4 separate regions of the Homo sapiens genome follow, and regions 1, 2 and 3 are each linked to region 4. Evidence: promoter capture Hi-C in 16 types of primary human blood cells and fetal thymus (Javierre and others, 2016). All regions are on one chromosome and are shown on one strand. Each heading gives the region's core, a stretch centred on a gene start or on the middle of the fragment in contact. The rest is flanking DNA. Distances are from core to core; before and after follow the strand shown. Region 1 overlaps ARMH1 (armadillo like helical domain containing 1). Region 2 overlaps RNF220 (ring finger protein 220). Region 3 overlaps RNF220 (ring finger protein 220). Region 4 holds the start of ERI3 (ERI1 exoribonuclease family member 3).

Region 1 (7,084 bases), core at 2,018-4,517, 330 kb after region 4:
CTGCATTCCATGTCTCTTCTCTGTGCGCCAACAGAACCTGGGATATATCCCATCAGAGCGCTCTCCACTGTTCATTAAAATCACCTTTTTGCTTGTCTCTCTGCCCTGCCAGTCTGTAAGCACCCGAGGGCAAGGTCTATGTTTGTCACGTTAACCAATCCCAAGCCCAGTGCTCGGCTCAGAGTTGGCACCTGGGAATCTGTTTAATTAACTAATGTGCAGAGCTAAGGAAATTAAAGTGCACATTCTGAGCACAGTGTGTTGGATGTCAGTTTAAATAACACTTATTGAGTGCCTGTGTTTTACCAGAGACCCTGCTAGCCACCCAAATTACAAAGATGGAGCACACTGATGTTGAAATTGCCTAGTGGCTCTTGAGTAAACAGGAAGGCTTACGTGTCAAAGTCATTGATCGGCACTGCGGCAAGGTAGAGAGGGAAAGACAGATGGCCTGACCTCAGAGGAGGAGGAAGGGTTCAGGAACAGTAGTAGGGATTTAGAGAATGGTGTTTGAGGTGTAGGATAGTGGGCAGCCCCCTTCCTGATTTAGAAGCAGCAGCAGCATGGGTTGAGGCAAGGGGTGGGGTGGGGTGTCAGGTTTCACCTGGGGCCGAATTTAGATGGAAATTCTTTGGCCTGAAATGTTTGAAGCTTTATCCTCAGGTAGTAAGGAACCACTGAAGAGTTTGAAGCAGTGAAATCTGTCAGATTTGTACTTTTAAAAATCTCACATCAAAGCCTGGCCTGGTGGCTCACACCTGTAATCCCAGTACTTTGGGAGGCCGAGGCAGGAGGATTGCTTGAGCCCAGGAGTTTGACACCAGCCTGGGCAACGAAGCAAGACCCCACCTCTACAAAAAATAAACAAATATAAAAATAAAAATTAGGTGGGCATGGTGGCATGCACCTGTAGTCCCAGCTACTCAGGAGGCTGAGGTGGGAGGATCACTCGAGCCCAGGCGATTGAGGCTGCGGTAAGTTATGATTGTGCCACTGCACTCCAGCCTGGGTGACAGAGCAAGGCCCTGTCTCAAAAATAAAAATAAAAATAAAAAATCTCACATCACTGTGGAGTTTAGGCTGGGGCAAGCCCGAAGACCAGTGGAGGCTGTTGCAGTAATCCATATGCGGAACAAGGGTGTGAAACTGAAATAGCGGCAGTGGAGGTGAAGACAGACAGACTGATCTCAGGGAAATTTAGGACATGTAATTGGCAGGAGCTGGCAACAGTTCAGATGAGGGCAAGGGAGAGGAATAAGTCAAAGACAACTTTTGGCTGACTAGGAGGGTGGTGACCCAAGCACTGAAATAGGACCAACACAGGGCAAGGGGCAGGTGTGAGTTGATGAGTTCAGTTTGGGACCTGTTGACTTGAGGAGCCTGTGACACATACCAGTGAAGAGTCTGCCGGTCACTTAAGTACATAAAGAGATCTGGAGCTCAGGTGGGAGGCCCAGACTGAGGAGACGGATTTGAGAGTCGTGCGCCTATAAATGTAATTTGAAGTGATGGGGTGAATGAGGTCACCCAGGGATTACAAAGCATGAGAAGAGAACTAAGAACGGGAAAACGACCTGCAAAGGCACTATCCTGCAATGGCAACTGAGGATTCAGAGAGTCTGGAGTAGAACCAGGGGATTCTGGGGTTAGGAAAAGAGTCATTCACAATCCATCAGAGAGACCAAGCACGCTGGGACGGTGAGCTAAACCACTAAATCTGACAACAGGAGATTATTGGTGACACCTTGGAGCACAGAGGAGAACAGGATCCATGCCCTTGGCTTAGTGGGGAAAAACCTGGACTTTGGAGTTATATGCAGATCTAAGTTCAAATCCCATTCCCATCCCTATTTGAGACCTTCAATAAATGAGCAAACCCTTCTAAACCTTAGTTTCTTCATCTGAAAGTTGTGGATAATGATGACCTCCTGAGGATCTTAAGAGGATTAAAACAAAGAATTTAGGCAGGGTGCGGTGGCTCACACCTGTAATTCCAGCACTTTGGGAGGCCAAGGTGGGAAGATAGCTTGAGGCCAGGAGTTTGAGATCAGCCTAGGCAACACAGAGAGACCCCATCTCTATAAACAAAAACAACCACAGAGAGAGAGAGAGAGTGTGTGAGTGTGTGTGCGTATGGTGTGTGGATAGCTCTTAATCAACACTCAAAAAATGTCAGTTTCTTCTCCCTGCCTTCATTCCTTCTGCCTTCACCAGGAAACACAGCTAACATCACTTTTTCCTTAGCGGTCAACAAGCTTAGATACAATTTATCCCAGCAACTGACTCTTGAAATTGACACATTTTGGTCTTTTTTCCACTGTTTTCATCTTATTAATTATTTTTAAAAATGGTAGTTAATGGGTCTTTTTTTACCCTCATCAAGCTTACTATTAAAGAAAGGTTGAGATAAATAATACATGACTGGAGGCTCTTAATTAAATATACTTAATGTCTTTTATCTCCCCCTACTTCTGAAAAACCTTAGTGACATAACCCCGCTGAAGAAATATAAAAAAGCATTCAGTCACAAAAGTTCATGGAAGGAGGCAACAGGAGATGAAAGAATTCAACAAATATTTGGAAGGCAGAAGGCAGGTGCAGGGAGGCTAACCGGCTTGAAGCAGAGGAAATTGCAAGCAACTGCCAACAAGGGGAGCTTACCAACAAGAAACCAGTCAATTCAGCCAGTTTGACCTCTAAGAGGCTTAATGCTTGAAAGCACAAATTACCACTGAAGGTCAGAAATGAGGTATGGAGCCCAACCTAGGGGGATTCACTGACCTCTGTGTGCAGAGCACTTGCCTGCACTCCAGACCCTCAACCGCCAAGAAAGAAATGACTCTAAACTTTCTTGCTGCATGAAGAGGAAGGAAGTTGGACTCTGTAGGCCTCCTTGCACAGGGACCTCAGGCAGGGCTTGAAGGGCAGGAATGAGACATAGAGTTGAAAACTGATGAGTAGAGGGAAGGTCTACACACAGCATTGTGTGAGCCCTTCCCCCACCTGACTCCCAACATGCCATGGCGAGGTGTCTGTAATAGCACCCCTGCTCTCTCACCCTCCCTGGGAAAGTAGGAAAGTCTTCTCCAGAGACCCTGATATCTCTATGAGGGTGTTAAAAAAAAACAAACAAGCTTCCACTGACTGACATTTATGAATTCCCCAGTGAGAAGACTAGTTGCCTAATAAATATCCAAACACTGAAGGATACAGTGATTTAAAGAGCCCACCAAGGGCCTACTATAGTAAATTAAAAAAGACCTTCACCAAAGCATATCATTATACAACTTCAGAAAGGTTTCAAAATCATCAGGAGTGAAAAAAATAGACAAAGGCACAGGAATCAGAATGACTTCAGATTTCTCATCAGTAACAGCAACTGGGGAGGGTGAATCTGAGGGAAGCTTTTTTTTTTTTTCGAGACAGGGTCTTGCTGTGTTGCCCAGGCTGGAGTGCAGTGGCGGGATCATAGATCACTGCAGCCCCGACCTGGTCTCATTCGATCTTCCCACCTCAGCCACCTTAGCCTCCCAAGTAGCTGAAACTACAAGTGTGTGTCACTATACCTGGCTAATTTGGGGGTGAGGGGATGGAGGTCTCACTGTGTTGCCCAGGCTGGTCTCAAACTCCTGGGCTCAAGTGATCCTCCTGCCTCAGCCTCCCAACATACTGGGATTATAGGCATGAGCCACCATACCTGGCCAGATAGCTTATTTCTTTTTTTTTCTTTTTTTTTTTTGAGACAGAGTCTCACTCTGTCACCAGGCTGGAGTGCAGTGGCACAATCTCGGCTCACTGCAACCTCCACATCCTGGGTTCAAGTGATTCTCCTGCCTCAGCCTCCTGAGTAGCTGGGACTACAGGCACGCGCCACCACGCCCAGCTAATTTTTGTATTTTTAGTAGAGACGGGGTTTCACCATGTTGGCCAGGATGGTCTTGATCTCTTGACCTCGTGATCTGCCTGCCTCGGCCTCCCAAAGTGCTAGGATTACAGGCGTGAGCCACCGCGCCCGGCCCAGATAGCTTATTTCTAACGCGGAGTTATATACCCAGCCAATCCAACATGTGGTCAAAAACAATATTTTTAGACTTTCCAGGACAAAACAAGGGAGTACACAAAGAAGGAAGAAGATGTGAGAGACAGGAAATGGGCATCCGTCAGAAAAACTCGGCAAGAGGAAATCCCAGGACAACATTTGCATACTGGCCTTAGTGAGCAACCAGTCTAAACTATAGTAGAAAGAGATCTGTGGGACAGAGGTTTCCAGGGAAAAGATGGAATTAATCAGTTACAGATTGAACATTTGGAAAAATAATCACTACATATTTGGGACATTTGGAATGAAATAGCCCTTGGTACTTCAAACCAAACAATAGGAAAAAAATGACAATTATTAACTCCAGGTAAAACCAAACTGTAAGAAAAAAATGTAATAGTAGTTTGCTACTTGAAGAGTTTATTTACTTGATCAGTCATGTTAACCTGCCGGGCACAGTGGCTCACGCCTGTAATCCCAGCACTTTGGGAGGCTGAGGCAGGCAGATCACTTGAGCTCAGGAGTTTGAGACAAGCCTGGCCAGCACAGCAAAACCCCATCTCTACTAAAAATATAAAAATTAGCCAGGTGTGGTGGCACATGCCTGTAATCCCAGCTACTCAGGAGGCTGAGGTAGGAGAATCGCAGGAACCTGGGAGGCAGAGGCTGCAGTGAGCCAAGATCACACCACTGCACTCCAGCCTAGGCAACAGAGTGAGACTGCATCTCAAAAAATAATAATAATAATGTAAACACTATTGATTTAACTCTAAAGTATGGGAAATAATGTTGGAGGATAGAAAGAAAAAAAATGGGAGTTAGAGTGGTGCAATAAAACTGATTCCTCCACTGGGCAAGGTGGCATGCGCCTGTAGCCCCAGCTACTCAGGAGGCTGAGGCAGGAGGACTGCTTGAGGCCAGGAGTTTAAGGCTGCAGTTTACTATGATCGTACCTGTGAATAGCCACTGCACTGCAGGCCGGGCAACATAGTGAGACCTCATTTCAGAAAAAAAAAAAAAAAAATGAAGACCTAATTCCTCACCTGCCAGAATGATAAATACATAAATATTGCCTAAGGTTGATACATCGAATGATAGCAGTGTATTAGTTTGCTAGAGCTGCCATAACAAAGTGTTATAGACTAGATAACTTAAATGACAGAAATTCATCATCTCACAGTTCTGGAGGCTGGAAGGCTGAGATTACAGTGTCACAGGGTTGATTTCCTCTGAGGCCTCTCTCCTTGGCTTGCAGATGACCATGTTTTCCCTGTGTCTTCACCTGGTTTTCTCTCTGTGTATGTCTGTATCCTAGTCACCTCTTCTTATAAGGACACCAATCATATTGGATAAAGGCCCACCCTAATGACATAGTTTAAACCTAATTTCCTCTTTAAAGACTGTATCTGCATTTACAGCCACATCCCGAGTTACTGATGGTTAGGACTTCAACATAGGAATTTGGGGAAAACACAGTTCAGCCCATAACAAGTAGTATAAGCTCGTTATTTGGAAATACAGGGGTAAACAGCAGAAAAAATAGCCAAAAGAGTTTAAAGTAGCCTCCTCTGTGAGGAGAAACTGGAGGGCAGCAAGAGGTGAGGCAGGTGCTATTACTATTTGATTTTTTTCAAAATAGCAAGTGGCGGAGCTGAGCCTTGAACCCAGTCTGACTCCAGATCTCATGTTCTTCCACTCTCCCCCAAGAGTAGGAACTCCTCCAGCGCCCTGCAGCATCGTATTCATCTTTGCATCTCCCACGGTACCTTATACAGAGCCACAGGATGGGCCTTCACCACATACATAAGATTTACAGCTGCATCACAGTGACGTTTAAAGCTGATGTTTGTTGATGCTTCTTTTCCTGTCTTCAAAGAAGATAGGGGAGACTGAGGTCCAAGGAAACATTGAGGAGCCGTAATGTGCCCTGCTTAGAGGTCCCTGCCTTTGGCGTCCTGGAATCGCTGGGTGCATCTCTAATGGCACATTGAGTTTTGATACTAGAAAGGGTCCATTTAAGGCAGGGCAAGGGCACACGGTGCTTTCCTGCCTGATAAAGCTAGTGGTGGTGTCTCAACCCCACCTCCCTGGGGTCTAGAACAGCCATTCACCCCCATTTTCTTGATGTCAGTTTGGCAACTGAAGGCAGCCACAGCCTCCCTAGGTTATTCTCAGATTTATGACTGCAATGGCATTCACAGTGATTGATGCAGGATCCCATGAGGGGGTTTGGTCATTTTTGTGTTCAGGTTGGTCCGCAGTCATTCACCTGGTTCTTAAGGCCAGCTAGATTTCGTGGTTATCTCCATCCTGGAGGCTGCGTGGACGCCCTTCTGGAAGCACGCATCCCATGTCCTCTGGGGAGTAGTAGAGGTTGGTGTGTATGTATGTCTGTCTCCGCATGCCTCAGATTATTGCTTCCTAATAAAATTCTGATAGCTGGGCCCCATCAATATCTCAAATACATGTGAGGAAATGTTAATTTAGAATCAATTTTAGGATGTTTCAGACTGTAAAGTCCTTTTAACTAGATCTCTGGCGAAGATGTAGAAGCACTTTATGGGACTGTAAATTTCATGTTGAACAGTCTTCGTGAAATACACATCTCTCCTACACACAAGCTGTTCTCTCCATATCAATCATGGCCCCTGCAAGTAATGTTTCACAAATATTCTGTAAATCACAGAAAACTCCATGATAATGTGAAATATGACTTTCACTTGTCTGTTAGACAAAAGAATCACACATGCCTCTCTCCCATCAGCACTAACATTTGTTATGGATAATAACACTTTCAATCACAACTATTTTTGGAAAACAGGTTTATCTTAAACCTTCCCTCCCCCCACTGAAAATACTCTCCCAAGGACACAGACTCCTACAAACCACAGCCCATTAATCCAACTATGGAATGGGAACATTTTCTTCCCACTAACTTTTTTTTAAGTTGTTTTTAAGAGTTAGTGTAAAAGCCCGAGGTACAAGGTTAAGGAGCACTTTAACTTAGGTGATTGGCATAAGAGGGAGGCCATGTCTCTCAAGACC
Region 2 (6,852 bases), core at 2,282-4,781, 270 kb after region 4:
ATCTACCATGCCTAGTGTCTGTGTCTCCCTCCCAGGGGCCAGCACTAGCCCTTGGCCCAAGAGAGAGGCTGAGCCACTCAGCCCATGAGAGAGGCTGGGCCACTGGGATTGAAAGGACTGGGTGGAGCTTGGCTGAGCTGGGCTGGGCTAGGCGGTCTATGCCTTCTCTGTCTTTGGGGTCTTCTTGCTACTCTACCGTTGCATGCCCTGGGCAGCAGGTAGAATGGTTACCCTGTTCTCTTCTTTCTTGGCAGCAAGAATTCCCTTCTGAAGGATGCCATGGCTCCAGGCACCCCAAAGGTAGGTGGCCAATTACATGTTTTCCTCCTGCCCATACTAACCTAGGCCTACCCAGAACTGGTTCCTCCTGAGAAAAAGGAGCTTTTCTAGTATCCTCAACTATCTCCAGCTTTTCTAATATCCTCAACTATCTCCAGGTCTTGAACATCATCCTGAGGCCTAGGGCTGCGCCGTGTGTGTGTGTAAGTGTGTGTGGTCTGTGCATGAGTGAGAGTATGCTCATCTGACTTCCTCCTCTTCCAGCCAGGAGAGGGGTCAGAGCCAAGAATGGCCTGGGAGATGTGGGTGACCCAGACACTAAGGGTGAGAAGACTCAAAGGAAGAAAGTGAGCTATAGCAGATGAAGAAAAATAAAGAAATGCAGGTCAAGATAGTGCAGGGCCCTAGAAGCCAGACTATGGGGGCACAGGGGTGTATGAATGTGCAGGTGTGTGCGTGTGTGTGTGTTTGTGTGTACTTTGTCCTGAGGGGAACAAGGAGCCAAGGAAGAGGCTGGACTCTTTTGGGGAGCTAGTCTGCCTCTCTGAACAAACCCTGTGGGAGAAAGACTTGAAAGCATCAGTTGGAGAAAGGGAAAGTGAAGAGCAAATATCTGGCTCAAAGGAGGGGCCAAGAGGCCTTAGCACAATGACATTTGTATCAAGAACTCCTCAAAGATGGCCATGGACACAGTGGGTACTACTTACCCAAAGGTGGTTTTGAGGGGATGGATACATGGGGAGAACCAAACCCTCACTCACTGAGTATCCCCTTCCCCATTCCTCGGTAGAAGACTGCATCCTTTTTCCCATAATTATTCAGAACAGGAGGCCACCCCTAGCCCATTTTATAGGGAGTGAGGAATGACTATGGAAGATTTGGGAATGGGTGGAATCAGTGAAGGAGAGTGTTTGGAGAGATTAGAGCAAAGGCCAAGGTGAGAATCTGAGGGACTCCTGCACTTGGTGTCAAGATAAGGTCCAGGAGGCAGGGAAGGAGACAGAGGAGGAACACTCAGTGAGTTAAGAGGGGCACAGGAGAGCATGGTATCTCAGGATCCTAAGGAAGAAAGTTTCTAAATGTATCAGGTGGTCAGCAGTCAAACAGGGAAAGACTGGAGAAGGGGCCCGTTGTATTTAGAAGTCTGGCAGTGACTGGTGACCTCTAAGAGGGCAGTTTTGGGAAAGGAGCCAGAGTGACAAGTATCACTTCCATGGGGTAGACCCAAATACCCTGCAAGCCTTTCAAAGGTATAGGAATGGATCGTGTACCTTCGTTTAGAAAACTGCTCACCTGCAGCAAGCTGGGAGAGGAGGAGCAGAGCACCTAGCCCTGCCTTGGGTGGGTATAGGCCTTGGCCAAGGAGTCAAAGCCCCAAAGAGAAAGGGGAGGCTGGGGGTGCCAGGCAGCTGCAGACTCACAGAGGTAGCGAGCTACACTCACTGAGTGTGGCCCAGCCTGCAGCATTTAATGGTGTGGTTCAGGAAAGTCAGAGACAAGCTTCCAAGTCGGCCACCACAGGTGACAGCTGACACCTGAGCATGGCTGGCAGGGCTGGGGACTTGGACATCAGTGAGGCCTGTGTTCTAAGGACAAACCCCTGGCAGACACAGTCTACCTCCGTCCCTAGCTCCCCACATATACAGACCCACACACACACTCAGGTCAGAATACAGACATAGGAAGTCTTAAAACATGTGTCCTGAAACCACAGACACAGGCATACTGACCATGAGACACAGAGATAAGGGACACTTGCTCACCCACTTCCAGATATATGCCCACACCCCCAAAGCTGAATAGTTCAGGGTCTATCCTCTGCCTTGACCTAGGCTTTAGGGAAGCAGGTCGTGAGTGGAAGAGGCGAGAGAGAGAAGGTTCAAGCAAGAGACTGAAAGGACAGGGAGAAGGAGGGAGGGAGGAGGAGGAGAGGGCGAGGGGGCCTTAGACAAGATTGATGGCCTCGTTGCCATTAAGAAAAAAATTAGCCGGTGGCGGCTATCATATTAAAGGGTGAAGAAGCCGTGAATTATTTTCTTAAAGATCTTATCGCTTACAATGATAATTTTACCTTCCAAAAGGCCACTTTTAATGAGGCGAAGAGCCAGGCAAAAAGTCATGATTTAATGCCGGGATTTTTTTTCAAAACACATTTTACTGCTTTTTGGTCCATGTTTAAAAAGCACCAGTGACCTTTTTTTATTCCGCTTGCCCCAGGTGTAATGCCGAGGCCTCTCAGGGCTTCTAACCTAGAGAGAATGAGAGAGAGAGAGAGAGAGAGAGAGAGAGAGAAAGCGCACAAACAGGAGCTTTTTCATGGGCCGGAGGTCGGGGTGACCCACACTGTTCCCCCTCGTTAGCATCTTCCTTGGGACCAGAGAAGGAGAAGAACATTGCCTGAGAGCACCTCCTTTCTGAGCTGAGGGCTGGGTCACCCATGAGGCCTCCCACTGGGCTTGGATGGGTGAAGAAGGAGCTCCACGTTGCAGAGAATCCCATGCAGGCCCTTTCCAGCCTCTTCTCTCCTCCAGCTCCTGGGGTATGGGCAAGTCAGGGAGCCCTGCCAGACCAGCAGCTGTCCCTTCCCTTTCCAGGGCCCTTGCCTGAGGATGTGCAGCATGGCCACCGCATGCGGGTCACATCCTAAGGCTCAGCCGGAGATGAAGGATAAATGGCTGCTCCATCTTTCCCAAATTGCTTTCTTTGGGCTGTCACTGGCGATTTGGCATGGTTTTCTAAGCTGGGGAAGACTCCTAGGGAACTGTGTGCTTCCGGCTCAGAGCTGTACAGGCTGGAGAAGGTGGGGGGAGGAAGTATGGATTGCTTTCAGGCCTCCAGGCACCCAGTTTGCAGCTGAACAGGCCTTGGCAAGAGCGGGCTCTCAGGCAGAATGTGCCATGTGGTATTTAGAATTGTGGTGATTGCACACAATTTCAAGCAGACAGTTTATTAATCTAAACTGCAGGCGTATGTAGAAGAGGCCATACAAGATTGACATGGGGGGATTAGTTTTGCTGGGGTTTTTGCTGGGGTCATCACCGTAGCACCGGGATAAATGGACCCACATACATCCCTAGCTGCACGTGGGAAACTCACATGCTATTTAATTTACTGTCTCCATTGTGGGGCTGCCATCAGCCTGTATTAAGGGCAGGCGGGGTAGCGGGTATATGGCTTTACCCACAACCCTTCATGGGGATCCCAGAGTCTCTGCTCTCCAAGGGAAAACAAAACATATATAGTCTCAGCCTACTCGGAGTGGACTGGGAGTCTCACTCCACTGGGACAGAGATTAGCCTAAGCAGGGTCCCTCAAGGGGTCTCTACCCATCCCTAAAACCAAGCCATGCTCTCCCACAACCACACTCCCAGGACTTGACCCCATGCCTTTAGAATCTCAAGAGTGGTCTTTCTATCCCTCAGCCTCCTTCTCTTTGCCTGGCTCCCCAAAGCACCACAGGACTGGGAACTCTAGGGACTGACTGTAGGTCTCATTTGGCCTGAGGCCACATGTCTTTTTTCTTCTTCCAGTCCCTCCTGTTGTCTGCTTCCATCAAGAGGGAAGGAGAGTCTCCAACGGCATCACCCCACTCATCTGCCACCGATGACCTCCACCATTCAGACAGATACCAGGTGAGGAGGGGTGGTGAGTGGCCATGAGAAGCAAGCTCACCTGGGGGAGGGCTTCAAGAGCCTGCCCGGTGCTAACTCCTCCTCTCCTCTGTAGGCCACAGGAGAGGCCTGAACTGGGTTTGGTTCCCCCTGTGTCCCGTGCCCCTAAGTGAACTCAGGAGGCATACGTGTCAGGGAATAGGCCTTAAATAGATGGATTTTAGGGAGAGATGCCAAGGTCACATGGGCTCCATGGGCTCTGAGCACCTCTGAATCATTCTATCCATCAGGAAGTATCCTATGGGGTTTGGTTTCATAAGAGACCCAGATACATAGCCCAGAATCACCTGAAGATTTCAGACTTCAAAAGCATGATACCGGCCGGGTGCAGTGGCTCATGCCTGTAATCTCAGCACTTTGGGAGGCCGAGGCAGGCAGATCACGAGGTCAAGAGATCAAGACCATCCTGGCCAACATGGTGAGACCCCATCTCTGCTGAAAATACAAAAATTAGCTGGGCATGGTAGCGTGTGCCTGTAGTCCCAGCTACTTGGGAGGCTGAGGCAGGAGAATCGCTTGAACCCAGAAGATGGAGGTTGCAGTGAGCCAAGATTGCACCACGGCACTCCAGCCTGGCGACAGAGTGAGACTCCATCTCAAAAAAAAAAAAAAAAAAAAAAAAAAAAAGGCTAGGCGTGGTGGCTCATGCCTGTAATCCCAGCACTTTGAGAGGCCGAGGCGGGCGGATCACGAGGTCAGCAATTGGAGACCAGCCTGGCCAACATGGTGAAACCCCATCTCTACTAAAAATACAAAAATTAGCCAGGCATGGTGGCGGGCGCCTGTAATCCCAGCTACTCCGGAGGCTGAGGCAGGAGAATCACTTGAACCCGGGAGGCAGAGGTTGCAGTGAGCTGAGACCACGCCATTGTACTCCAGCCTGGGTGACAGAGCAAGACTCCGTCTCAAAAAAAAAAAAAAAAAAAAAAAAAAGCGTGATACCTTAAGCAAATAACCATTCAATTCTGCCAAACCTTGGTATCAGGCCCAGATAGAGAGACAGGCACACACTGCCTGTGAGTGTCTTGGGCAAATAGGAAGGGAGTCATCACACAGTCCTACAATATCATAGCAGAGGGGCCTAAGGGTAGCATCTTAGCTATAAACGGACCTTCTCTGGAGTAGGAAGGACAAAGAACTTCCCCCAAAACTTTTGTCTAAGGAGAGGCAGAGCCCTGTCTTTAAGAACCCCAGAGCCGTTAGATGAAAGAGAACAGTGCCCTATTCCAAGGAACATTTGTCCAAATGGCAACAGGGCTTCGCAGGGAGGCCCAGTGTGAGAAGGGAAGAACAGCCCTGATCTGATACAGAAAGACAGGGCTGCAGGGACCTGTAAGCTTGGGTAGAGAACCAGGGGCCCTGCTGGCACACCTGACCCTTTGTGGGAATTAAAGAAAGGTGTTCTCTGCACCCCTTCCTTCCAGCTGACACAGCCTGGCCTGGCACAGGGTGCAGAGCTTGGAGAGTAGAGTGCCCAGCACGGCTGGACAGACTCCGCCGAATGCCTTTGCATGGGACTCAAACTGCATAGCCCAAAGTGCAAGCCCTGGGAAGGGATCCCTGCTCTCTCTAAGGGAACCCCAGTTTCAGAAAGGAAGCCCAATAAGCCCCTGGGAGACACTGCCCCGATCCAGACAACCCTGGTTCAAGGCAGAGAAATGACCAGACCCCAGGGAATTCTGATCTGATAGGGAACAGAGACAAGGCTTTGTTCCAGAGCATTCTGGTCCAGAGGAATAGACAGCCCCACCTTCAGAGGCCTGTCCTCTGTACTGCACTCACGGCATGCGCCTTGCCATCTGTTCAACTAGGAAAGAGTAACCATCAGGCAACAATGCCTCAACTCCCTGACCCACCTTCCTCCCCACAAATGTCAGTATTTCTTTTATCTCCTAGAGACTATGAGGAAAGCTATGGACTCTCTTGCCTAAAAACATACGCATGTGTTTTTACATACACACAGGCACACACACATGCAGTGTTATACATACAACTTCAGGAGGTTAGGAAAGCTCTAGATCCCATCCCAATACCACTTGGAGATCTCTGAAGCCCAGGTTAAGACCCAAGACCCTGTTCTAGACTCTAAGCACACCTCCGAAAGGGCAAATCAAACTAGGTTGTGTCCTACAAGATAAAGCTGAAGCTCCTTATCATGGCAGCGAGGCCTTCTGTGATATAGATTCAACCTATATTTCCAGCTTCCATTCCAAATACTGTCCATGAATCCTATGGGCTATGCTCACTGAACTAATGCTAAACACTCCCTGGATGAGGCATTCCTTTCTTGCCTCTATGTCTTTTCACATGCTATTTCTTCTAACAGAACTGTTTTACCCCACTACATCAAATTTCTATTTATCCTTCCAAATCCTGCCCAAATATCATCTCCTCCAGGAAGTCTTTCTGGATTAGCTATCTCTTGACCCTTGTGTGTCCTGGTTATTGCCCCGTCACCCTACATTGTGATCACCTGTTCAGGTATGTTTCCGTTATCTACAAACCATCCCAAAACTTAGTGGCTTAACACAACTCATTATTTATGATGCTGTGGTTGACTGGGCATTTCCTCACTCATGCAGCTCATTCATCCTGGAGGACTGGCTGGGCTGGAAAGTCTAAAATGGCCTCACCGCATGTTTGGGAGATTGGGTGTCTTGGCTCTCTTCCATGTGGCCTCTCATCCTCCAGTATGTTCAATCAGCTTTCTTACTTAGCAGTCTCAGGGCAGTGTCACACCAAGAGGGTAAATGCCAAAGCCGCAAGGCCTGTTGAGGCCTAGAATCTGGAACTCACACATCACTTCCACCACTTTCTATTAAGCAAAGCAAGTCACAAAGCTAGCCCATAATCGAGTGATGAGGAAAGGCAGCTCTTGATAGGAGAAGATGCAAATAATTCT
Region 3 (6,487 bases), core at 541-3,040, 300 kb after region 4:
TCCCTGTTCTCCCTGCAGGGTGCCAAGAAGCTCTGCCCTCAGTGCAACACGATCACAGCGCCCGGAGACCTGCGGAGGATCTACTTGTGAGCTATCTGCCCCAGGCAGGCCTCGCCTCCAGCAGCCCCACCTGCCCCCAGCCTCTGTGACAGTGACCGTCTCCCTTTGTACATACTTGCACACAGGTTCCCCATGTACATACATGCACATACTCAAACATGCGTACACACACACACATTTACACACGCAGGACTCTGGAGCCAGAGTAGAGGCTGTGGCCCAGGCACTACCTGCTGGCTCCCACCTATGGTTTGGGGGCCATACCTGTTCCAGCTCTGTTCCCAGGGTGGGGCAGGGAGGTGGGGGTTGGGGGAGTAGTGGGGCACGGCTCCTAAGATCCAGCCCCCATACTGACAGACGGACAGACAGACATGCAAACACCAGACTGAAGCACATGTAATATAGACCGTGTATGTTTACAATGTTGTGTATAAATGGGACAACTCCTCGCCCTCTACCTGTCCCCTCCCCCTTTGGTTGTATGATTTTCTTCTTTTTTAAGAACCCCTGGAAGCAGCGCCTCCTTCAGGGTTGGCTGGGAGCTCGGCCCATCCACCTCTTGGGGTACCTGCCTCTCTCTCTCCTGTGGTGTCCCTTCCCTCTCCCATGTGCTCGGTGTTCAGTGGTGTATATTTCTTCTCCCAGACATGGGGCACACGCCCCAAGGGACATGATCCTCTCCTTAGTCTTAGCTCATGGGGCTCTTTATAAGGAGTTGGGGGGTAGAGGCAGGAAATGGGAACCGAGCTGAAGCAGAGGCTGAGTTAGGGGGCTAGAGGACAGTGCTCCTGGCCACCCAGCCTCTGCTGAGAACCATTCCTGGGATTAGAGCTGCCTTTCCCAGGGAAAAAGTGTCGTCTCCCCGACCCTCCCGTGGGCCCTGTGGTGTGATGCTGTGTCTGTATATTCTATACAAAGGTACTTGTCCTTTCCCTTTGTAAACTACATTTGACATGGATTAAACCAGTATAAACAGTTGCTGCCTGTGTGTTATGTGTGTGGGGTGGTGGGGGAGCTAACTAGGGGAGGTGGGCTGAGGCAGTTAAGGGGTTAATTCCTGGTGGCAGGATGGGGGAAAGGACTTAGCTATAGGTGTATGACACTGTGCAGGGTTGGTCTGCTCTGGGGCCGTGGAGCATTTGGTTTGGAGGGGGGTGGGGCTGGGGATCTGGGCTCCTGACTATTGATGGGTAGGGGCTCTAGGTTAATTCTTTATCGATGCAGAATCGTCAGCTCATTAATCACAGAAGAGGTCAGAGCTTGGGGGTACAGAGGGGATGCAAGCTCTATCCCCCAACCTAGGCTAGGAGTGGCCACAAGCTTGGGTACAAACACAAGCCCCAGGCCTCTATCCCTTTCTGGTCCCCTGAAACATACCAGAGACCACAGTGGGATCACCCTATCAGCCTCCCAGGCTTTTGTTCTATTCTCCAAATGTATCTCTAGTGACCATCATCCCAGTGTAGCTACTGCCTAGATTCTCAAATGGAAAGAATGGAAACCCTATTATCCAGGATGGACCTTCAAGTCTCCCATGTGCTCAGAGAACCAAGGCTGGAGAGATGGCACTTTGACCCCCACAGCTCCCCACTGCCAGTGAGGTAGCTCAGCTTCCTAGATGCCTCCCAGGCAGGTGCTAAAAGTTACATGTAAGTCTTCACCCACAACAGAAAGCTGTTTGGAGAAAAACAGTCAAGGCCCCAGAGTAGCCCCATGACTCCAGACTTGCTTTGACACCTTGCACACCAGGCCCATCTGCCCAAATCCCCAGCCTTAGTTGCCCATTTTCTCTGGGATACCCACAGTGAATTCCTCAGAATTGGGTCCAGTTGGCAGCTCCTGCCACCCTTTGCACCCAGATGAAGCACAGACAAGTCCCCCTTGGAGCCCAGCAAAGGCCCTTCACAGCTCCACGCCCAGTTTGATGGCACCCAATATCCTGAACACAGGGATCCTGGGGATGTACACAGCCTCTGTCGAGGCGGGTGGAACAGCTCCAGCGATGGCTGAGGGTTTGGGAAAGAAACAGGTTTGGAAGAGAAGAGTGGGTAGGTGAGGGCAACGGAGAGATGAAGAGGAGGCTCTTAATGCCCAGTTCCTGTCAGGCCGACTTCTTTGATGTCTTTAGTCTCCCCTCCCACAAGCTTGGACTCAGTAGGTCCTTGATGGCTGGTTACTGCCACCCTGGGGGCCATATGGTCTCTAAAAGGGGCCATTAACCCAGAGTGAGGGCATTCCACTGAAGCCCGCCCTGCTGTGGGAGCCTTGAGCTGTCTCATGGCACAGGCTGCACTGCCACCTGTTGGCCATGGCTAGGAATGCAGCCACACAGCATGGGAATCCCTGCCACCATAGTGGGGACTCACCAAGGACTGATGGGATGCAGACAGAACGCGGCTCTGGGGACAAAGGATCCATCATCCCCAAGAGTCAGCTCCCATCCAGAGCTTTTCTAGCCATCTCCTTCACTGCCCCCTAAGCCCCGTGATCACCACGGTAAGCTCATTCAATCAAATATTTATTGAATACCTACTATATGCCAACATTGTGCAGTAGTGACTTCTAGAATGATCAATGATACTGAACTATCAGGCTGAATTCACCTCTTCTGCCTAGAGAGTATCTAAGTGGGTCTCCCTTCCAGAAGATGAAGGAGTTTGCTATTTCAGCCCAAATCCCCTTACCCTGGTTCTGGTCTTTAGGGCTTGGGAGTTAGCTCATCCCAGCTCCTGTTACAATGCTGCTGCCTTCCTGCCCCCCACTGTCTCTGGCAACTTTCAGCTTGCAACTTTCCCAGACCCAGCGGCTTCCTAGCAAAGTGTGGTAGAGCCAGGCAGGCCCCTAACCTCAGCTCCTCATCTGGCTTCTACCTCAGACTCCCAGGCAATGGGGTCAGAGGAGCCTCTCTGAGTGAACTGCCAAGTGGGAGCCATGTGAATGGTACTTTACACTGTAGGGCTTCGCCCTGCTGGAGCAAAGATCATAGCCCCTATCCGCAGCCTGACGCTACCCCTGACCGATATACCTTCCCTCTGGCATCTCCCCACAAAGGTCACCTTCCATTCAAGGAATCAAAACTCAACTCTGGTAACAGGCACAAAGTTTCAGTTATGCAAGATGATGAAGTTCTGAATTATGCAAGATGCAAGACTATTCAGTTCTAGAGGTCTGCCGTGCACATAATCTCTTAAATTTTAAGTATCGTACACACTTACAATTTTGTTAGGTGATCTTGGCCAGGCGCGGTGACTCATGCCTGTAATCCTAGCACTTTGGGAGGCTGAGGTGGGAGGATCACTTGAGCCTGGGAGGTTGAGGCTGCAGTGAGCCATGATTGCACCATTGCACCCCAGCCTAGGTGACAGAGTGAGACCCTGTCTTGAAATAAATAGATAAATAAATAAGTAAAGAAAAAAAGAGAGTAGGTCTCATATTAAATGTTCTTACCAGAGTTTAAATTTTAAAAAATCAACTAGGGCTCACCCTCAACACCCCCCTCCATTTGTCAACCTCTACAGCCTGCATGCCACAGGAATCAGCAGCCTGACTGTTGCACTTGTCCAAACACAACTGACTGCAAGGCTCCCACAGACACATGCCCAGGCACTCCTGCCCCTTAGGATTCTGTGGTAAGCAGACCACCAGCAGACAGAGGCCCCCAGGAGACAGGCCCATAGGAATTTTCTACTTAGGGGACCGCAAAGTCCCAAAGGGCTACAGGGAGTTGAACGAGAAGAGTGCCCGACAGATTGCAGGTTGTGGGGAGGTGTCAGGCATTTATTTCTGGAGCAGAGGTGAGATGGAGCAATGGCCTCAGCAGCGGACGCAGTTGCGCATGAAGTCGACACAGAGGCTTGTGTAGTAAGTAGGGTAGTCACGGAGGTGGCTGACGTGTGCAGATGACACGAAATCCACAGAACGCGCCAGGACCCGGCGTGCCAGGCGTGCCTCCACCATGCGTTCTATGTCTCTGGCCAGGACTACTTCGTCAGCCCTCGAGTAGAGGTAGAGCTCGGGCCAGCGAGAGCCCGCGTCCTGTAGCCTGTCATAGAAGTGGGTGTGGAAGAGGGCTGTGATGGGAGCAAGCAGGACGTGGAACAGGACGACCACCAGGGCAAAGGCCACCAGCAGCAACAGGCGCAGCATGGCGGCCCGGCGCTCCAGGATGGCTGCCAGGGCCCGCAGAGCCCCTACCAGGTTGCTGTCACCAGGAGCGCTGTCAAAGATGGTGCCCACCACACGCAGGCGGCAGAAGCGACGGGTCTGCAGGAGCTCCAGCACGTAGCGGTACAGCATGACGCCACCGTTGCTGAAGACATGGAAGAGCAGGGGCTCCTTCTCAATCTCATAATCAAAGAGCAGCTCGAGCAGCTTCTGGGCCAAAACACGAAGTGAAGGGATACCCAGTGACTCGGAGAAGAAGACCATGTGCCACGGGGCTGTGTATCGGATTACGATGCAGCCCTGGGGAGAGAGGCCTGGTCAGTCCTCACAGATGAGGTGGGGGTAGTGGGTACAAGCTAAGGTCAGAGGGGCCCAGCAACCCCAGCCTGTAGGACATAGGCCATGGGGCCCACAGCGTCAGCAATGCTCTGGGTCCTGCTTCAGCCTGAGCCCACCAGCCCGCTGCCCACAGACACAGGTGCCTTCTGGGCAGGGAAGGTATACTTAAGGCCCATTTTTGGACTAATTGCTTCATGCTGGCCAAGCCCTCTTGGCCTGGAGTGGTATTTGAGGCCCAGAGCCTGAAGCATATACTGGAGACACCTGGGCTGACCAGAGGAAGTCTCTTTACTCTGGTTCCCTCCTGTCTGTGCCCCGCACTCCCATCCTAGGCCTTGCACATTTGGGATGGGGCCTCACTGCTTGGCTATACCCTGTCCCAGCACCTCAGATCTGCACTGTCCCTACCTCCCAGACAGAAGTAGTACCCCCATGAGACCAGTACCCGAGAGCTGGCCTGCAGGCGCCAGCCCTGACCACCAGAGGCCACTTCTGAGCCAGGCCCACATCACTTTCATCACTGGTCACTGTCACCTTCCCTCTCTCCCAGGCTCCTAAAAACAGAGTCCATACTCTCTGGACTCAGGGACCTGACACTCAAATGTCCCTGGTTCCCCGGCCTGGGATCACTCCTCATATCTGCCCTGAAATTCCAAATACAGTAAACACTTGTTCCTCGAATTCTATAATCTGGGCCCAAACTCCCTCTAGGTTTCTATATTCCTCACGCTTGGGCCAAGGGTGCCACAATCTCCACACAGGTCCCCTTCTAGGTCAGTTAGAAAAGCCACCATGCCTGGCTCCTAATCCCCTCTCATCCTCCTGTTCAGAGACAAAGGGCCCTTTGTCAGGGGAATGTGACTTTGGAGAGTGCTGGGGTCAGACAGGTCCGGGTTCAACTCCTGGCACCACTATGTATCAATAGTAAGAACAAGGAGCAGCTTACTACTTTCTGAGTCTGGGTCCCCATCTATAAGATTACGGTGAAATTGGGATAACACCCACCTCATAAGGTTATGGGTAAAATTAGATGAAAAAAAATGTATCTCAAATGATCAAAGCAGTACCTGACACAAAGTAAACTCTCAACCAACAGCAGCAGTAATTAGTGATGTGGTAGTGACAAGGAGAAAATCGTATGGCCACAGTAGTTAAATGACCCATGGCTAAACAGGGATGGTCAGCAGAGGTACCTTGCCATCAGCCGCCTGACCTCCTAGCCCTGGAGTGCCTAAGCATCCCTCCCAAGACTCTGAAGAGGAGGCTGCTTAAGGCCACCCACATTCTCCCAAATGCTCAAATCTGACAGAGGCCTTTCAGTCCCCACTGTATGTTTCTCCCTGGCAGCATCTGGAATCACACACTCCTAGAAATATTATCTTGCAGCCCAGTCTCTTCAATAAGCCAGTAACATGAAAAAAGGGGCTGTTCTATAGCCTGGACGACATAGGGAGACCCCATCTCTAAAAAAGAAAAAAAAAATGGTTGGGCACAGTGGCTCACACCTGTAATCCCAACACTTTGGGAGGCTGAGGTGGGCAGATGACGAAGTCAGGAGTTCGAGACCAGCCTCACCAACATGATGAAACCCCGTCTCTACTAAAAATACACAAATTAGCCAGGCGTAGTGGCACATGCCTCTAATCCCAGACACCTGGGAGTCTGAGGCAGCAGAATTGCTTGAACCCAGGAGGCAGAGGTTGCAGTGAGCCGGGATCACGCCATTGCACTCCAGCCTGGGCGACAGAGCAAGACTCTCTCTCAAAAAAAAAAAAAGAACAACAACAAAAAAAATACTAGCTTGGCGTGGTGGTGCATGCCTGCAGTCCCAGCTACTCGGGAGGCTGGAGGCAGAATGATTGCTTGAGCCCAAGAGTTGAGGCTGCAGTGAGCTATGATTGCACCACTGCACTCCAGCCTGGGT
Region 4 (6,853 bases), core at 1,909-4,408:
GCACAGTGCCTGGCCCTTAGCTATTGAACAAACAAGCTCGAGTCCCTGGATATCAATCATCCAGAGTATGCCTCTTTAGCTGGTCCCTGATCCTTGTAAAACAGACAGGTTGGAACTAACCACCCACCAAAAGGTGACATGCAACCTAAATTAAACCAAGATCCCAAAGGCCTTGGTCAAATACATTAGCAAAAGCCAAACGAGAGCCAGGTGTAGTGGCACATGCCTGTAGCTCCAGCTACTTGTGGGCAGGAGATCACTTGAACCCAGGAGTTCGAGCCCAGCATGGGCAACCTAGCAAGGTCTCATAGATAGATAGATAGATAGATAGATAGATAGATAGATAGATAGATAGATAGATAGATAAATGTTTAAAGCCAAATGAAGATGTTTCTTCCTATTTTCTTAAGATGTGTATTTCTCAGGATAATGGGCTATTCTGGTTCTATTCAACCATCCTGAACCTAAAGTAGGTGCTCATGAGATGCCCATAAAGCAGTTGTGACAGAACTTGACAGTCTGGATCTCCCACCTCCAACTCTTACCACTTTAGAAACTTTAAGTAAGTTTCTACAGACTTTGAGCATATGTTACTTTATCAGAAGAAGCTACAAAAAAATATGATTCGTTTAGACTTTGGGGATACATGGGAAAAAAAATACAATCTGCATCAGCCCCCACCCCCTACCCTCCAAGCCCAAATACTCAGAAGAAAATAAAGCCAGACTTGACCATGCAACAGGATTCTCACCTCTCCTTACTTCGAAGATGCCAAGACCGGCAGCTGGGGATGCTGAAGGTTCTGTGAGAGCTGGAAAGCCCCAATGCTGTGGATAAATACACATCTCTGCAACAAGTCTATTTCAATACCAAGGATCAAATCCCCATGAAGGATACTACACCTCAAACTCTAAACTCAAACTTCGGGATAACTGCTATCTATGTGCAAAGACAGTGCCCCCACAGAGCTTTCAGAAACTATTAGTACTACATTTGTAATGATTTTCATGTTCTCTAGTCATATACTTTTGCTCCTAAGGAGGCTCACCTCCTAGAAACACTAAACATTTACCGAGAAAGATAGCTATGAAGTGGTGCCTCTGGGTAGTTTCAGAATCCTAGTCTAGTCAAGGAGGAAGACACTGGTAAGGCTGACAATATTCAGAACTAAGGAACTAAGGCTGGGCCAGGACTGGGGTAGGGGTTGGTTGCCACAAATCCACAAGCCATACTGAAAATGGCCACATAGACTAGGAAACACTTTCAGGATAGTTCCAAGCCTGCTTCAAGCTCTAAGAAAGTCAAGGTAACTAAATCCCAAGTCAAAACATCAATAGATACCTATCATCCTTTTCAACTAATTCATATCCTCCAAAGGACCAGAAGTTGCAGAGATGCCCCTGTTAGTGATGTCTTTTGCATAAAGAAACACCTAGGGTTGGAACTAATATATTCCTGTCTACCATTCCACACATTTAAGACTTTCTTCTACTCAGATCCCCTGGGAAAAGGCCACTCACCAATTTACCCCACCACAAAGAAAACACTTTTTAAAATGAAAGGGAATAAAAGCACTTTTATTTGGAAATTTCAAGTTGGAAGAAAAGCTCTTAGCCAAGCTCTATGACCTAGCTAGCTGATTATTTACAGGATCTTTGGGCAGGAATTGTTAATGAGCTTTTAATTTGGAGTGCTTAAGTTGCCAAAGTGCTCTGAGCTCCAGTGAAGCACCACAGAATCTATAAAGGAAACCTTATCAATCACTTCCCGGCAGCTCCCTTCCCCCAACCCCCACCTCCTGAGGAAAAGGCAGCCAAGTGGGTTTCTAACCAGGATCACAGACACACATTAGTGGAGTCACACTCCAAGTCCCTGTTTATAAATTGGCTTTTAAATGGTAGGAGATTCAGGTATAATAAACTAAGCTCCAAGCAAGAACCCACTAAAACAAGGCATGCTGTATATGATAAAGTCAGAATAAAGCAGAATTTGATGAAGCCAATTTCTGGAAGAAACTCTACAATCAAAACTCATTTAGCCACTCACAACCTACTATAGTTTGAATAGCGTACACTCTTTTAGCCAATAGGATTCATGTTTTGCTGCCCTTCCGCTGGGAGACTGATTAAATGTCTGACAAGAGTAAATGCCATTGAAGTGGCCAGAGACCTCTCGCAGACACAACGATGGGCACTATTTGTTGCAAAATCCAGCTCTAAGGACAAAATCCAAACCCCCATTGAGGGGCCCCACATCCAGCATCTTCCAAGTCAACAAGGAGCAGTTATATTTTGCAAGAACTCGCAGTCAAGCCTCAATCCAAGTTCATGCTTTTTTTAAGAAAACACCTGTTGCTGGACCATTTGCAAGACAGGCAAACAGAAAGCTAGCCAGGTTAGGCCCTTATTCACTCCTTCCACCATCACTACTACCACCGCTTCAGATTTACAAAGAGGTAAACTGCTAACCTGGTGTGTGGGCATGTGTTGGCGAGAGGGTCAAGGGAATGTTCTACCCACAATCTCCATGCTCCATTTCTAGCCTCTCTAGTCAAACCTTTTTCTTCTCTAGTAATCCCAGTAAGTCAACCCCCTTAATAAACTCACCCATCCTGTCTTGCAAAGCTCTGCCCCGCTCCCCCTCCGCCAGAACATTACTCAGTAGATTAAGTAAGCATCCAGGGTAAGCACATGGGCCAGCACCCCAGGTTGCATAAATTCTGCGCACCGCGACCCTCACCCCGCATGCATTAACCAGGGCCCAATCTTGGCGGGGCCATTCAGCATCACCCACCCCGGGGTGTTGCCCCCAACTCGGGCCCATCCAAGTCCAGGGGAGAGTAAGGGGAGGGGCGGGGGGCCAGGAGACCAGCCCTCCTTCCCAGGGCCGCCCCCGCCCCCCGTCAGCAGCGGGAGAGGCTGTCGCCATGGCAACGCCCCCTCCTCGGGGCCAGCGCGGCAGGCTCCCTCCAGGTGCAGGCCCCGACGTCTCCCTCGGCCTCAGCAAGCGCTCAGGGCAGTTGGCGGCGGCGGGCGCGGCCCGCGCCGACTGCGGCGCCGGCCAGGCAGAGGCAGGGCCAGCTCCGCCCGCTCCCCACCGCCCGTTCCCGGCCGCCTGAACAGCGGCAGCCAGCACCACGAGTCCACAACACACCGACTCACCTCCGCGCACTCTGACCCCGACCGACGCGGCGGACGGGCGGGCGCTGTGGCCAACCGCTGAGCCCGCTGCCGACCCCTTTGACCAATGGGCTGCAGTCAGGCGGGGCTTCTTCTCCCCAAACGCTCGCTCTCCCGCCGACATGCGCGCTAAGGTATGTCAAGATGGTGACTCCCGGCCGCCGGCCTTATGGGACTTGTAGTTTTGACGTTGCACAAACTCAGAAGAGAAGACGGGGACGGGGACATCACTTCTGATCTGTGAAAGGAATTTTTTTAAAATGAAACTTTCTATGGCCTACAGCGATCTAACCAGGATCACAGACACACATTAGTGGAGCCCCCCATCTCCGTTTTCCCGCCCTCCAATATACCCGTAAGGTGAATGTGGGCTCACAACGTGACAGAATTCTATTTACATGACTCCTCATGATTCGTTCATTCAACAAGTAATTATTGTCATCTACTTTCGGATGTGGGCCTGGGGGAGACCTGAGACAAGGAGGGATTAAGCTAAGAGGAAAATGCTTAGATTTGTGAAGGGCCGTCCTAAGGAAGAGGGAACTGGCTTGTTCAGGTCCACTCAGAGGAAACTTCTGTTTAAAAGGTTTCTGGCCTCAGCTGTGAGGAGCTTCCCCAGTCAGTCTCTCCAGTAAGCTGGAGAGACCTGTGTTTCTTCATCCTGGTTATGCCTTTCTGGGTAGTCATGGGTCCCAGGTTATGAGCTGGGAATGATGGCTTTGACAGCTTCCCAATCGGTCAGGACCCCATCCTCTGGGCCCAGCTTCAGTTACCAAGCCCCTCTGTGTGCTGTCTGCATACTTACACTTAGGATGATGTCATTTCTGGGCCCTACCACCTCTGAGAGCGGACCTTACCATAACGGTTTCCACCTGAGCTGAGAGTGCCTGGTAATCCCCATATCAGGGAATGCCTTCCTTAATCCCACCCACGTCATAGGTTAGGTGATTCTGCTGTGGACCTATAGCATTTATCATATTGTCTTATAATTGTCTGTTTCCTTGTTGTCGCTCCCACAGGGTTTTAAGTCCTTTAGGAAAAGCATTTTTTCCATATTGTTCATGTTGTATCAGTAATACACCGCATAGGGCAGGTATAAAGAAGGCCCGCAATAAATGTCTGCGAACAAATGAGGGAATATCCAGCAGCAGGGACAGACTTATCCCGAGGTCAGTAAAGTGGAGGCACTATCCCCCAACTCTTGGAGCTGGAACAGATTCTCCTATTATTACCTACACATTAACCCCAGTTGGTCAGTCAGTCCATCTGTATTTATAGTGCCTCTCTTAAGTGTCAGGCACTGTTTCTGTTGCTGAGGATTCATTGATGAATAACGACACACCTCTATTCTCAAGGAGCTTTTAAATTGGAGAGGGAAGCTGGGTGTCGTGGCTCACGTCTGTAATTCTAACACTTTGGGAGTCTGAGGCAGGAGGATCCTTTGAGACCAGGAGTTCAAGACCAGCTTGGGCAACATAATGAGATTCTCATCTCTACAAACAAGTTAAAAATTAGGCAGGCATGGTGGCACGTGCTTGTAGTCCCAGGTACTCAGGAGGCTGAGGTGGGAGGATCACTGGAGCCTGGGAGGACAAAGCTGCAGTGAGCCATAATAAATAAATTGGGGAGGGGCTGTAGGAGGAAGAATAGATAATAAAACAAGTAAATATAAAAATAAGACAAGAGGCAGTGAGATAGCTTTGTTATATACTGAGTTATGGCCTGAGAGTAGGGCACAGCCAATCTTCTTGGCTGTAAGAATGAAGTAAATCTATAGTATCTGGATTCAAGGCTTTATGTAATGCCCAGCCCCAACATCCTCTGTGGAGCCTTCCATGGTCCCCTTGACTTCCCCAGAATGTGTTCTTTCCTCCTTGGTGCACTAGGGCTCAACTGTACAGCTTCCAGGACTTCACCACACTGTAAGTTCTTTTTGTACAAAGACCAGGCAAATTGATTCAAATAATAGAACAGTTTAACAGCTCAGTATACACTTGGTATCTTACACTGCCGCCTAACACAGCACTTGGCTTTCTCAAGCCATGGCTCTGTTGTGTGCTATCTGGTTCCCTAGAAAACAGAGCCTGGGCCGGGCACAGTGGCTCATGCCTGTAATCCCAACACTTTGGCAGGCCAAGGTGGAAGGATTGCTTGAGCCCGGGGGTTCATGACCAGACTGGTCAACATAGCAAGATTCCATCTCTATAAAAGAAAAAAAAGGAAACGGAGCCTGAGGCAAAACTTATGTGCTCAAATTTAATTGGGGAGTTCAATCCCAAGGCATCAAGAGTGAGGGGAGCCGGGTATGGTGACGCATGTAGTAGTCGCAGCTACTCAGGAGGCAGAAGACTGAGGCAGGAGGATCGCTTGAAGTCAGGAGTTCAAGGCTAGCCTGGGCAACATGGCAAGACTCCGTGACTTAAATAAACAAATAAATAAAAGAGTGGGGGAAGGGGGGAAGTGAAGCAGGGAAGGAGGGAAAGAACGTACAAGATAGTGTCTTACTGAGAAGTTGGCCAGTGCCTCAAAGAAAATACAACTAGTTGCTCTGTCGTACAAGGTGTGTAGAACCATCCTGTGTGACAGGGAGAAGGAAGGGTTATGTTACCCCACCACTGCCGTAGCCACAGGGGGTGCCAGATTCCACACCTGGAAGCACAGTCATTCATTTGAGACTAGAAATGGTGAGAGGAATCAAAGCCTCTGGTTGGGTCAGATTAGGTCCACTGCAGTCCCGCCACAGTGGGCACATTGGAGGCTGTGTCAAAACCTAGCCATCATCCCAAGGGAAACAAAGACAACCAGAGGTGTTAGTAAATGAGGTGGGAGTGGCAGTTGAGCTGTGCAATAAATAAGTGGCCAATGGCCAGAGTCGGGGATGCAGATGAGGCAAGGGCAAGTGAATTTGGGGAGGCAGATGAACTGAGTTCAATACACAGACACACAGACACCCTAGCTGCTGGATTGAGCGACTGAGCTAAAGTGAACACTGAGAGCAAGAACAAAAGAGAGGACCAAGTTAAGCCTTTTTTTTTTTTTTTCTTTTTGAGATGGAGTTTCACTCTTGTTGCCCAGGCTGGAGTGCAATGGCGCAATTTCAACTCACCGCAACCTCCGCCTCCTGGGTTCAAGCAATTCTCCTGCTTCAGCCTCCCGAGTAGCTGGGATTACAGGCATGCACCACCAGGCCTGGCTAATTTTTGTATTTTTAGTAGAGACAGGGTTTCTCCATGTTGGTCAGGTTGGTCTCAAACTATCGATCTCAGGTGATCCACCCGCCTTGGCCTCCCAAAGTGCTGGGATTACAGGCATGAGCCACCACGCCTGGTCAGTTAGGTCTTCTTATACCCTGTCAAACCACCAGGAAATGCAGCAAGGTGGTCATCAAAGCTAGGACCTTAACCAGCTGTCAAAGCGCAGAGAGTGCAGGACCCAAGGATAATACATGGCAGCCCGCAAACCTTGGCACAGCTGAGAGAACCCAGACTGGGTCTGAAACCGTTTTATGTGGCAACTGGAAGACCTGCTACTGCTGTCGTAGTCCCTGTAAGCTATGTAAAACAGCATAGGAGGGTGGGCTCAGAGAGAACCTGTTCAGGTTTGAGTCCTGGCTCCATCTGTGACCTTAGGCAAGTCACATACCTCTCTGAAGTTCAGTTTCTTCATCTCTAGAA

Evidence for each region. The method cuts DNA at HindIII sites, captures the fragments that hold promoters and counts their contacts. A CHiCAGO score of 5 or more calls a contact.
Region 1: a fragment that was not itself captured here is called in contact with the fragment with the promoter of ERI3 in region 4 in 1 of 17 cell types (megakaryocytes); the score reaches 5.7 in megakaryocytes.
Region 2: a contact is called between a fragment that was not itself captured here and the fragment with the promoter of ERI3 in region 4, in 6 of 17 cell types (neutrophils, M0 macrophages, M2 macrophages and 3 more). The highest score is 6.7, in neutrophils.
Region 3: a fragment that was not itself captured here is called in contact with the fragment with the promoter of ERI3 in region 4 in 2 of 17 cell types (megakaryocytes and erythroblasts); the score reaches 7.1 in megakaryocytes.

What each region holds. Positions count from the first base shown.
Region 1 is chr1:44,681,908-44,688,991 of GRCh38, forward strand. The region is part of intron 1 of ARMH1 (armadillo like helical domain containing 1); the gene reads left to right. LOC105378690 (a long non-coding RNA gene) reads right to left here. Exons shown (of 5, transcript XR_007066059.1): 5 at 6,407-6,687. Among named protein-coding and RNA genes, the nearest start is that of ARMH1, 11 kb to the left of the region's middle. The HindIII fragment of the contact is 270 bases long and covers 3,133-3,402 here.
Region 2 is chr1:44,622,488-44,629,339 of GRCh38, forward strand. It overlaps RNF220 (ring finger protein 220), which reads left to right. Exons shown (of 15, transcript NM_018150.4): 4 at 255-300; 5 at 3,810-3,911. Among named protein-coding and RNA genes, the nearest start is that of SNORD145, 45 kb to the right of the region's middle. The HindIII fragment of the contact is 3,508 bases long and covers 1,778-5,285 here.
Region 3 is chr1:44,650,686-44,657,172 of GRCh38, forward strand. It overlaps RNF220 (ring finger protein 220), which reads left to right. Exons shown (of 15, transcript NM_018150.4): 15 at 19-1,038. The coding sequence ends at 90. TMEM53 (transmembrane protein 53) reads right to left here. Exons shown (of 3, transcript NM_024587.4): 3 at 2,562-4,524. The coding sequence ends at 3,874. Among named protein-coding and RNA genes, the nearest start is that of SNORD145, 17 kb to the right of the region's middle. RefSeq lists an enhancer at 1-180. The HindIII fragment of the contact is 824 bases long and covers 1,379-2,202 here.
Region 4 is chr1:44,352,099-44,358,951 of GRCh38, forward strand. ERI3 (ERI1 exoribonuclease family member 3) reads right to left here and starts at 3,159. Exons shown (of 9, transcript NM_024066.3): 1 at 2,794-3,159; 2 at 752-827. The coding sequence starts at 2,928. RefSeq lists a silencer at 2,894-3,123 and enhancers at 2,993-3,493, 3,394-3,443. The HindIII fragment of the contact is 14,792 bases long and covers 1-6,853 here.